Linked DNA regions of Homo sapiens: region 1 is linked to region 2. The links are contacts of gene promoters, found by promoter capture Hi-C in blood cells and fetal thymus (Javierre and others, 2016). All regions are on one chromosome and are shown on one strand. Each heading gives the region's core, a stretch centred on a gene start or on the middle of the fragment in contact. The rest is flanking DNA. Distances are from core to core; before and after follow the strand shown. Region 1 has its middle 2.6 kb from the start of SRSF6. Region 2 holds the start of DHX35 (DEAH-box helicase 35).

What was found. The method cuts DNA at HindIII sites, captures the fragments that hold promoters and counts their contacts. A CHiCAGO score of 5 or more calls a contact.
Region 1: a fragment that was not itself captured here is called in contact with the fragment with the promoter of DHX35 in region 2 in 1 of 17 cell types (monocytes); the score reaches 9.9 in monocytes.

The regions. Positions count from the first base shown.
Region 1 is chr20:43,452,694-43,457,889 of GRCh38, forward strand. No RefSeq gene overlaps it. Among named protein-coding and RNA genes, the nearest start is that of SRSF6, 2.6 kb to the right of the region's middle. RefSeq lists enhancers at 4,540-4,859, 4,920-5,079, 5,001-5,196. The HindIII fragment of the contact is 271 bases long and covers 3,812-4,082 here.
Region 2 is chr20:38,958,796-38,964,585 of GRCh38, forward strand. DHX35 (DEAH-box helicase 35) reads left to right here and starts at 3,549. Exons shown (of 22, transcript NM_021931.4): 1 at 3,549-3,612. The coding sequence starts at 3,573. RefSeq lists a silencer at 3,414-3,533 and an enhancer at 3,574-3,883. The HindIII fragment of the contact is 4,420 bases long and covers 147-4,566 here.

The DNA.
Region 1 (5,196 bases), core at 2,697-5,196, 4.5 Mb after region 2:
TTTTCCTTACCTTTTTAGACACTTCCCAGTTGCCATTCCTAAATTTTTGGAAGGGAGGGGGACAGGTCTTCACTCTGTGGCCCAGGCTGGAGAGAAGTCACACAATCACGACTCACTGCAGCCTGAAACACCTGGGCTCAAGTGATCCTCCTGCCTTTGCCTCCCAAGTAGCTAGGACTACAGGTGCGTGCCGCCATGCCTACTAACATTTTTCTTTCTTTTTTTGACACGTAGTCTCGTTCTGTCGCCCAGGCTGGAGTGCAGTAGTGCAATCTCTGCTCACTGCGACCTCCACCTCCCGGGTTTAAGCGATTCTCAGTCTCCCGAGCAGCTGGGATTACAGGCCTGCACCACCACACACGGCTAATTTTTGTGTTTTTAGTGGAGACAGGGTTTCACCATTTTGGCCAGGCTGGTCTCGAACTCCTGACCTCAAGTGATCTGCCCACCTCGTCCTCCCAAAGTGTTGGGATTACAGGCGTTAGCCACTGTGCCTGGCCTTTTTTCATTTTTTGTAGACTTGCTATATTGCCCAGGCTGGTCTTGAACTCCTGGCCTCCAGAGATCCTCCCACCTCATCCTCCCAAAGCGCTAGGATTACAAGCACAAGTCCCTGCACCCAGCTTCCATTCCTAAATTTAACAAAATTTCAGAGTCCCTGTGGTAGTGTGTGTGGAATTGGTTCCTTCCGGTGGGTTCTTGGTCTTGCTGACTTCAAGAATGAAGCCGCGGACCCTCGCAGTGAGTGTTACAGTTCTTAAAGATGGTGTGTCCGGAGTTTCTCCTTCAGATGTTCAGATGTGTCCCGAGTTCCTTCCTTCCAGTGGGTTCGTGGTCTTAAGCTGCAGACCTTCTGCAGTGAGTGTTACAGCTCTTAAAGGTAGTGCGGACCCAAAGAGTGGGCAGCAGCAAGATTTATATGTGCATGTATACATAAATATGTATAGAGAGAGGCTTAAGTCCATGGAATGTAGTTAGGGAAAGGAGAATTTGACAATGATAACATTTGTTACTCATCAAACTCTCATTTTTAAAAAATTTATTAAAATTATTTGCAAGAGTTGAAGCAGGAAATGACACTCTTACGGTATTGGTGGGACTGGACATTGCTTTGGGGAGTTAGTGGGATAGTATTTATTGAAGGATAGGGAATTCGTTTGTCAAAGAGAAAGATGCAGCTGATATCATCCACTCTTCCTCTCACTTCTCTTTCCCAAAGCCCAGTGGCTACCCCTAACAAAAAACCCAAGAGCACTGCTGCGGAAGAGAAAACAGTTTCAAATATCATAATTGAGAGAGGTGCTGGATTGTCACCATTCTGTGGAGTCTTCCTGAGGACCCAACTCTGCTGATGTGTTGGGAGAACAACTCAAAGGAGAAATGGTAGATGTGCAGCATGGGAGCTCATATCTTTTCTTATTTCTTTCTTTCCTTTCTCTCCTTTCTTTTTTAGACAAGAGTCTTGCTCTGTCACCCAGGCTGGAGTGAAGTGGAGCCATCATACCTCACTGCAGCCTTGACCTCCAGGGCTCAAGTGATCCTCCCACCTCAGTCCCTGGAGTAGCTGGGACTACAAGTATACGCCGCCAGTACTGGCCTTTTTTTTTTTTAAGAGATGGAGTCTTGCTATGTTGTTCAGGCTGGTCTTGTGCTCCTGGGATCAAGTGATCCCATCTCTGCCTCTCAAGGTGATGGGATTACAGGTGTGAGCCACGGTGCCCGGCAAATCCCCTCTCGTAGCAACTCAGGTGTATTTGTATGGAGTGGAGTGAATATAGCAGTAGTTGCTCCAGGAACAGAATCCAGAATTGGAAACTGTCAGTGACAGAGTTAGAAAGAATCATGAATCAGATGACTGAAAGATCCTCTGAGGCTCTTCCAACTGGGAGATTGGATTGCATGTTGCCAAGCTAGTCCAAACTTCGTTTTAAAAACTTCCATAGGCTGGGCATGGTGGCTCATGCCTGTAATCCCAGCACTTTGGGAGGATGAGGCTTGAACTCCTTGAGCCCAGGAGATCAAGATCAGCCTGGGTAACATAGGGAGACCCTGCCTCTATTTAAAAAAGAAAAGAAAAAAACTTCTGTACAGGATTCATTTGGAATAGCACTTCTCAACCTCAGCTATTGACATTGGGGACCAGATAATCCTTCGTGGTGGGGCTGTCCTGTGCCTTGCAGGATGTTTCGTGGCATCCCTGGCCTCTACCCATGAGATACGAGCAGCTCCTTCCCTCCTCCAGCTGTGACAACCAGAAAGTCTTCAGATATTGACAGATGTCCGCAGGGGGGACAGAACTACCCCCTGTTGAGAACCACTGCCCCCTGTTGAGAGCCTTCCCAATAGCTGTGACTATAGGCATGTGCCACCATGCCCAGCTAATTTTTTAAAAAAAAAGTTTTTTGTAGAGATGGGATCTTGCCATGTTGCCCAGGTTGATATCGAACTCCTGGGCTCAAGCAATCCTCTCACCTGGGCCTCCCAAAGTGCTGGGATTACAGGCGTGAGCTACTACGCCTTGCTCCTTGCTTTTCTTTATTTCATTGAGTCAGTGTCTTGCTTTGTCATCCAGGCTGCAGTGCAGTGGCATGATCATAGCTTACTGCAGCCTCGAACTCCTGGGCTCAAGAGATCTTCCTGCCTCAGCTTCCCAAGGTGCAGGGATTACAGAATCATATTTTTTATCTGACTTTAAGCACGGTCTCTATCTCCCCCAGTCGTGACAAACAACGTTTCCCTCCAGACTGCCAAATAGCTCCAGGAGGGCAAACCCCGCCCCCCCTTTTCAACCCGAAGCGGAAGGATATTGAGGTTGCACCACTCAAAACAGAGCAGGAATACAAAAATATCCAAAGAGCTGGTGTTGGGCTTGGCACAATGGCTCACGCCTATAATCCCAGCACTTTGGGAGGCAGAGACGGGTGGATCACCTCAGGTTGGGAGTTCGAAACGAGACCAGCCTAACATGGTGAAACCCCGTCTCTACTAAAAATACAAAATTAGCTGGGCGTGGTGGTGCATGCCTGTAATCCCAGCTACTCGGGAGGCTGAGGCAGGAGAATCACTTGAACCCAGGAGGCGGAGGTTGCAGTGAGCCGAGATGGCACAGGTGTGAGCCACAGAGCCTGGCCTGGGCTGCGTTCTTTCAGGAGGCTCTGGGGCGAATCTGTTCCCTCGTGTCTTCCAGCTTCCAGAGGCTACTGGCACCCTTTGGCTTATGGTTCCTTCCTCCATCTTCAAAGCCATTAACTTCGGTTGTGACTTTCTTACAGCCAATCACTCTGACCCCAATCCCAGCCTCCTTTGTCACATCTGCTTCTCTGACTGTGGCTCTCCTGTCCCCCTCTTGTAATCACCCTTATGATCACATGGGGCCCACCTGGACAATCCCGGGGCATCTCTGCATCTCAAGATGCTCAACTTAATCAGATCTGCAAAGTCCCTTTTGACATACAAGGTAACATCTTCACAGGTTTCAGGGATTAGGATTAGGATTAGGACATAGACATCTTTAGGGGGAACCCTTATTCTGCCTACCGAGGTGAAGAGGTGAAGCCGGCTGGGCTTCTGGGTTGGGTGGGGACTTGGAGAACTTTCCCGTCTAGCTAAAGGATTGAAAACACACCAATCAGTGCTCTCTGTCTAGCTAAAGGTTTGTAAACACACCAATCAGCACTCTGTAAAAACGGACCAATCAACATTCTGTAAAATGGACCAATCAGCAGGATGTAGGCAGGGCCAAATAAGGGACTAAAAACTGGCGGTCCAGCCAGCAGTGGCAACCCGCTCGGGTCCCCTTCCACGCTGCGGAAGCTTTGTTCTTTCCTTCAGGCAGGTTGGAGTCTTGCTTTGTCACCCAGGCTGGAGTGCAGTGGCATGATCATAGCTCACTGCAGCCTCGAACACCTGGGCTCAAGAGATCCTCTTGCCTCAGCTTCCCAAGGTGTGGGGATTACAGACTCGTATTTTTTATTTATCTAACTTTAAGCACGGCCTCTACCTCCCCCAGTCGTGACAAACAACGTTTCCCTCTAGACTTCCAAATAGCTCCAGGAGGACAAAACCCCCCTTTTTCAACCCGAAGCTTAAGGATATTGAGGTTGCACCACTCAAAACAGAGCAGGAATACATAAATATCTAAAGAGCTGGTGTTATCTCAGTGATATCCCTTTTTTTTTTTTTTTTTTTTTTTAGCTTCGGCGGTGACACCTACTCTCCTGGTCTTCTCCCTACCTCGCTAGTCACTCCTCCCAGTCTCCTTTCCTGCGCTTAAATTTCAGAGTACCCCAGGCGTTGGCCTGGGTCTTCCGCTCTCCACTTAAACTTACTCCTTTGAGGTTTTCAATCTGGTTCTACAGCTTTAAATAGCATCTCCATTGATAAACTCACAAAATAAGGCACTTTCAAGTCAGTGGAGGAAATGATAGTATTGGGACAAAGGACTTTCCATACACGGGAGAAAAAAAATCGTTCGTCGCTGTGGGAGGGCTGCCGGGTCTCGTCCACGCTCCCTTTTGAGCACCTACAGTGAGCGTAGGATTGCCACGGATAGCCCAATCCACAAGTGAGTCAAGCTGCCAGGGCTCCAAGAAAGACCCATGGAGGGAGAGGGGAACGTCCGGGGAGGCGAAGGCTGCGAGTGAGACCCGGAGAGGCTGATGTCGGCGGGTCTGCGCGCTCGCAACGCGACCTCCGCCCGGTCAGCAAGACCTCGGCGCGCGATCCTCAGATTCTGCGAAACAAGACAAGCGACTGGGTCCGAGACCGCGGTCCCCATCAAAACGAGCATCAACCAATCGCTGGGAGAAATCCGCAGCCTCGTTTTAAGCCACCAAGCAGAGACCGCGGCGACCTATTATGATAACCTCGAGAACCAATGAAAAACGGGGATTCGCTCAGCCCGCCTCCCGAGCTTCAACCCCGAAGAGATCGCGCACAGTTTTATAAAAGGTACAAATTAGAAAGCAGTTCTGCGGCTGGATTAGAGACATTGTGTTTTCAAAGACGGTGGGGAGGGCTAGAGAAAAATCCTAGAAGCTAGCAAGACCGCACTACACCGAAACGTCGCGGGCAACGGACTCGCCAGTCACCATCTAGCCCAGGGACGACGCGGGACGGACGTGCCGCTGCGCGCTGACATCACGCTCCAGGCCCCGCCCCACCGGCCGCCCATATAGCGAAAGCCTGGCGCGCGCG
Region 2 (5,790 bases), core at 2,299-4,798:
AAAAATGAAAACCCTAAATTCTATGCCTTCCTGAACATGGTCAATAGGTTTAGTCTGGAAATTCAAAGCAAAAAATACCCTTTATCATAGGCACAGAAAAACTTCCATATTGTAACACGATTTTGAGGAACATTATCTTTCTGGAAAGCTTATCATTTGGAAGTTGCAAAATACACCTTTATGTAACAAAATGATTAGACTTTTATGGAATTGTTGGCAATCAACTAAATAAATTCTGGATGCCATCTCAAGAAATATCAGTTTTAATTTCAGAGCAGTTATTTTAGCCCATTCTTTCTGAAAATAGTTAATTAGGAAGACTAAGAATCTGTTGAGACCATTCCTAGTTTGTGGAAATAAAACCACAACATCAACATGCAGGTTATTACTTAGGTATTTTCTCTAACAGTAGTCTGTGTAGGCAAAATAACCCCTTGGGGAGAGTTGGACTTTGAGAACTTTCTAAGGCAGATGAACTAATTTTCTTCCAGGAGAGTGTAGCTCTAATGATTTTAAGTGGCCCATGTAGTTGAGCAAACACTGGCCTGGGAATTAGAAAGCCCGAGTTCTAGTTTTAGTTCTGATACTAAATTAACTCATTGATTCTGACCAAGTCCTTTTAACTTCTATGTACCTCAGTTTCCTATAAGACAAGAAATTCAGGCTAGGTGTTAAGTATGGTCTCCTCCAGCTTTAAGATTATGATCCATGAGACCAGCCTGACCAACATGGGGAAACTGTCTCTACTAAAAATACAAAAATTAGCCGGGCATGGTGGCGTGTGCCTGTAGTCCCAGCTACTAGGGAGGCTGAGGCAGGAGAATCGCTTGAGCCCGGTGGGTGGAGGTTGCAGTGAGATGAGATCTCGCCATTGCTTGCCAGCCTGGGCGACAGAGCAAGACTCCATCTAAAAAAGAAAAAAGATTATGATCCAATAATACAGGCATGGCCGATTTACTGTCTCTTCATAAACAGGAAGGTTTCATTATATGAGTAATAGATAAAATAGATAAGTTATTTTATTTATTTTTTTTTCTATTTTTTGAGATAGAGTCTCACTCTGTCGCCCAGGCTGGAGTGCAGTGGCGGATCTCTGCTCATTGCAACCTCTGCCTTCCGGGTTCAAGGGATTCTCCTGCCTCACCTTCCCAACTGGCTGGGATTACAGGTGACTACTACCACACCCGGCTAATTTTTTTGTATTTTTAGTAGAGACAGAATTTCGCCATGTTGGCCAGGCTGGTCTCGAACTCTTACCTCAGTTGATCTGCCTGCCTCAGTCTCCCAAAGTGCTGGGATTACAGGTGTGAGCCACCGTGCCAGGCCATGAAATAATCTTAAAAGTGGCATTTATTTCATTTTGCCTTATATTCATGTATAAACCTTGGTTTCCGTATTTGGGCTGTTAGTAAAATAAGACAAAAATAAAACAAGGAAAAATCAATGTCATGAAGAACTAAAACTAAGCCTAAAGCATGATGTTTATCTGTATATTACTCAATAGGCACTGCTACTGGGCTACGAATGTGAATGTGCCATGGTCCTCGTCCTCAGTAAGTTCCCTGTGTAATAGTGGCGGCAGGTAAACCACAGATCAACTAAAACTAAGCCTAAAGCATGATGTTTATCTATACATTACTCAATAGGCACTGTTATTGGGCTACGAATGTGAATGTGAATGTGAATGCTGACATGGTCCTTGTCTTCAGTAAGTTCCCTGTGTAATAGTGGCGGCAGGTAAACTACAGATCAACTAAAACTAAGCCTAAAGCATGATGTTTATCTACACTCAATAGGCACTTGTTACTGGGCTACGAATGTGAATGTGACATGGTCCTCGTCCTCAGTAAGTTCCCTGTGTAATAGTGGCGGCAGGTAAACTACAGATCAACTAAAACTAAGCCTAAAGCATGATGTTTATCTACACTCAATAGGCACTTGTTACTGGGCCACGAATGTGAATGTGACATGGTCCTCGTCCTCAGTAAGTTCCCTGTGTAATAGTGGCGGCAGGTAAACTACAGGCAACTAAACTACAGGTCACTTTTCTCACAAAAGTGAGAATACAGTTCCTAGACTACAAGGGGGAATGTTTAAGTTGGATAGATAATTTAGAGCTAGCCCTTTAAGGGATAAAGATAATTTAAAGGATGGATGGAGAATTCTAGGCCGAGGGACTAACAGATATTGAGTCCCTACATTAATTACTATAAAAATAAATCAAAGAAGATTCTTACATGAACCTATGCAGGTAAATTCAGATTTTTTTCCCCCTGGTGGATTTGCTCTGAGTTGAGGTAATGAGAGCTAACATTGATTCAGTGCCTGCTATGTTTTGCACTGTTAGGTACTTTACATGTTATCTCATGTAATACCTCTTTAAACCTCATTTTACAACTAAAATTAAATGACAGCTAGGAGCTAGGAAATGGCAAAGTTACGATTCCAAGTCTGGACTGGTTGTCCACAAAAGCCCCTGCTCTTGCCATAATGATGCCACTTCTTTCAAAGAATTCAGAATTTTCTTCACAGCTTTAAAAATGCATAGATTCTGAAGCCTCTCACTTCCTTCCAATTAGTTGCCTACCTAGAAAGTTATTTCCTCCACTTGAGCTCATCACCCCTTCTTAGCGCTCCTTTGGATTACTGTAATTTCTTTTTCTTTGACCTCACCTTTCGTCTGATGGATTAGTGTAATCTTTCCCAAATTTGTTAATCTGAAGAATTCAGGAGCTTCTCAAAATGCAGGTTCCCAAGCCATGCTCCAGGACATCGATTCAGAATTGGATCAAGGCCTAGAATCTGTGTTTTTAACAAGCATTTGACTCAAGGGTATCAAATTGGAGGAAGCACTGAGTTGGTGGACTACCTTAATTGATCTACCCATTTTCAGTCTCTTCTGCCAACCCATTCGCTCCACCCCACCCCCAGTCCGTTTTTCCGTTTTGCCCTCAAGGTCCCTGAAGACTTCCATATCATTTCGCATTGTTTTATTTGGGGCACTGTGCCGCACTACCTGGGCCCACAGCAGGCGCGCAATATTTACTGACAAATACAACCCACGAGGTAGTTCCTATTATTACCCTTCAATTTGAAATTGAGAATAAAACAGAAGTCGACAAGTTGAGGTAGCTTGTGACATCAGTATTTCGTATTTAATCCAGAAAGCACTGCTTCAACGCCCAGTGCGTGCAAGGTTCCACTCTCGGGCCAGCGGTCCTCTCCCAAAGCCCGTTCTTCCTAAGTGTGCGGCCGCCATCCAGGACACGCCACGCTCGTAAAAGGTCACCTGAAGCATCTACCCTCCACGCTCAAGAGGTAGGCGGAGGAGCGCGCCCTTTTCTCCAAAATGGCTGAGCAGGGTCACGTGGGCTCGGGGGCGGGGCCGGTGCGCTCGCCGGAGCCTGGAAGTGGGTCACGTGGCTCAGACGGGGGCGGTAGCTGTGGGGGCGTGGCCGTCACACGGCGCGATCCGTCTGGGCAGCGGCTCTTCGGGGGCCACGCCCTCCGGGCCCTGGGGGCCTAGCGCGCGACGGTGGGGTGGAGCTAGCCTCGTGACCTTTTACCCCAACATGGCTGCGCCCGTGGGACCGGTGAAGTTCTGGCGACCCGGTAAGGCCCTTGGTGGAACGCTGGGCAGATGCGGCGGCCTGACTTCGGTCTTGGCGCCGCGGCCGGCGCCCTGGGGCCAGCAGACCTGCTCGCAGGCCTGACCTCGGCGAGCTGGGCGCTGCCGCCTCTGTGCGGGGGGAGCTCTGGCTCAGGCTCCCCAGTGGTCCCGAGGGATTTGGGGGTGCTCCCCTAGCGTGAGCAGAAACTCTTTGTGACCTTGTTAAAGTGGTCCAGCCTCCTCAGGCCTCGTCTTCCTCGTTACTGATGCTTGTCCTGCCCACCCCGCGAGATGGGGAATCCTAAAGCTCCCTCTCGTGTCTCGTTAGCGCCCTGGGGTTGCGCTGTGGCCCGACAGACAATGCTGCTCGCTGCTGGAGGCTTGCAAGCCCAAGTTATGGAGTCAGACTGTCCGGGTTCGAATTTTCGTCTCTGCCTTGTAGTAGGGTGACCTTGGGCGAGTCACTTAATGCCTCTGAGCCATGACTTCTTTACCTGTAAAGTGGGCAGAACAATAGCTTCTATGCTGTGGGCTTAAATGACAAGCAGAACGCGTTGTCAGACTTAGAATAAATGCTCAAAAAAAGGGAAAGTGTGTTATTTTCTTTTAGGATAATTGTTGTCCACTCCGAATGTCTACTAGAAAAGGGAACAGTCCTTCATATTGGCTGCCAGCCACTTCCTCTCTTACAGACTAACACGAATCACAATCACAAAATGCTTTACTTGTTTTGTCTTGATATTTACTCATTAATCAGGTTTTTACTGAATGTGCATATGCCAGACCGTACTAGATGCATTACTTCCTCTCTGCAAACAGTTTCTTGTAAAAAACAAAAGTTTTTAAATTACAGCTACCAGCTTGATTTTTTTCTACCACCTGCACCCCTGCAGGTCTGGATGTGCAAAGTATATTGCAGCAAAAATGAAATGACACCAAGAATGTAATATAAGCAAAGCTTTTAATTTTTCAGTGGTTCTCTGAAATTCTGACCATGCATATAAGTGATGTGAGAGATAAACCCAAGCAAGAGATATGTTTAATGCTTTTTAAAAATTTGTAGTCTGTCACTTGACAGTTTTATGGTTCAGCATTTCAAGTCATCAGCCAATTATCCATCCTGAGTTTTATTTGCATCCAAAACTAGGAACTTACTAAGTAATGAATACTTTTAATTTATTCACGCTTTTAGTAACAGGTGAAAGTGTTAGGTATAATAAAGAGCTGAATTAATTGTTTGAAATCAGACCAGGGTACTATTTTGGTTAAAGAACGTGGAATTACTCTTAAGAGTTCTATTTCATTATTTAGTTCATCCATTGAGGGTACACTTATTGAAAACCTAATCCTGTGTTCAGGAGACAAATACAGATGCTCAGGGCTCTGCTCTCAAGTTACTGTCTCTCTCTTAATTGAATATAAAGTTAGATGTCCTCTAGAAGAGATTTTACAATGAGACAGAGTAAGGTGGTGGTAAAGAAGATGAGCTCTAGAGTCAGACTGCAGTGCCCATCATGTCTACCACTTACTAAGTTGATGACTTGATAGTCACTTAAATTCTCAAAGTCTCAGTTACTCCATCTGTAAATTGGGTATAATACCTACCCTACCCAAAGTAGTGTTGTGAGGTTTAAATGAGAATAACACACAACAGGATCTTGGCACTAGATAGGTTACTATTATAATTATATGGAAGTATGGAAGAGGGAGGGAAAGTTGAATGTATGGATAAGAAATACTTCATTAAGGTGGTATTTTTGGAGTGAACATTAAAGGATGAATAAGGTTTTGTTTCATAGAGAAATGGAACTCGAAGCAAAGGGTGCAGCATGAACAAAGGCAGAATGGGATTTGTGCCTTTAGAATGTCCAGAAAGCCAAAATAACAGAGCAGTGTGATAGTGTTAAGTGCTAGGGTATATTTTGGGGTATGACAGGAGATGAAGCTAGAAAAGTAGGTAAGGGCCTCATTGTGAAAGGTCTTCATGACAAGTTAAAAAGTTTAGACTTCACTGTTTTTTTGTTTTCTTTCTTTTTTTTTTTTGAGATGGAGTCTGGCTCAGCCGCCCAGGCTGGAGTGCAGTGGCGCAATCTCGGCTCACTGGAACTTCCACCTCCCAGGTTCAAGCGATTCTCCTGCCTCAGCCTCCTGAGTAGCTGGGACTACAGGTGTGTGCCACC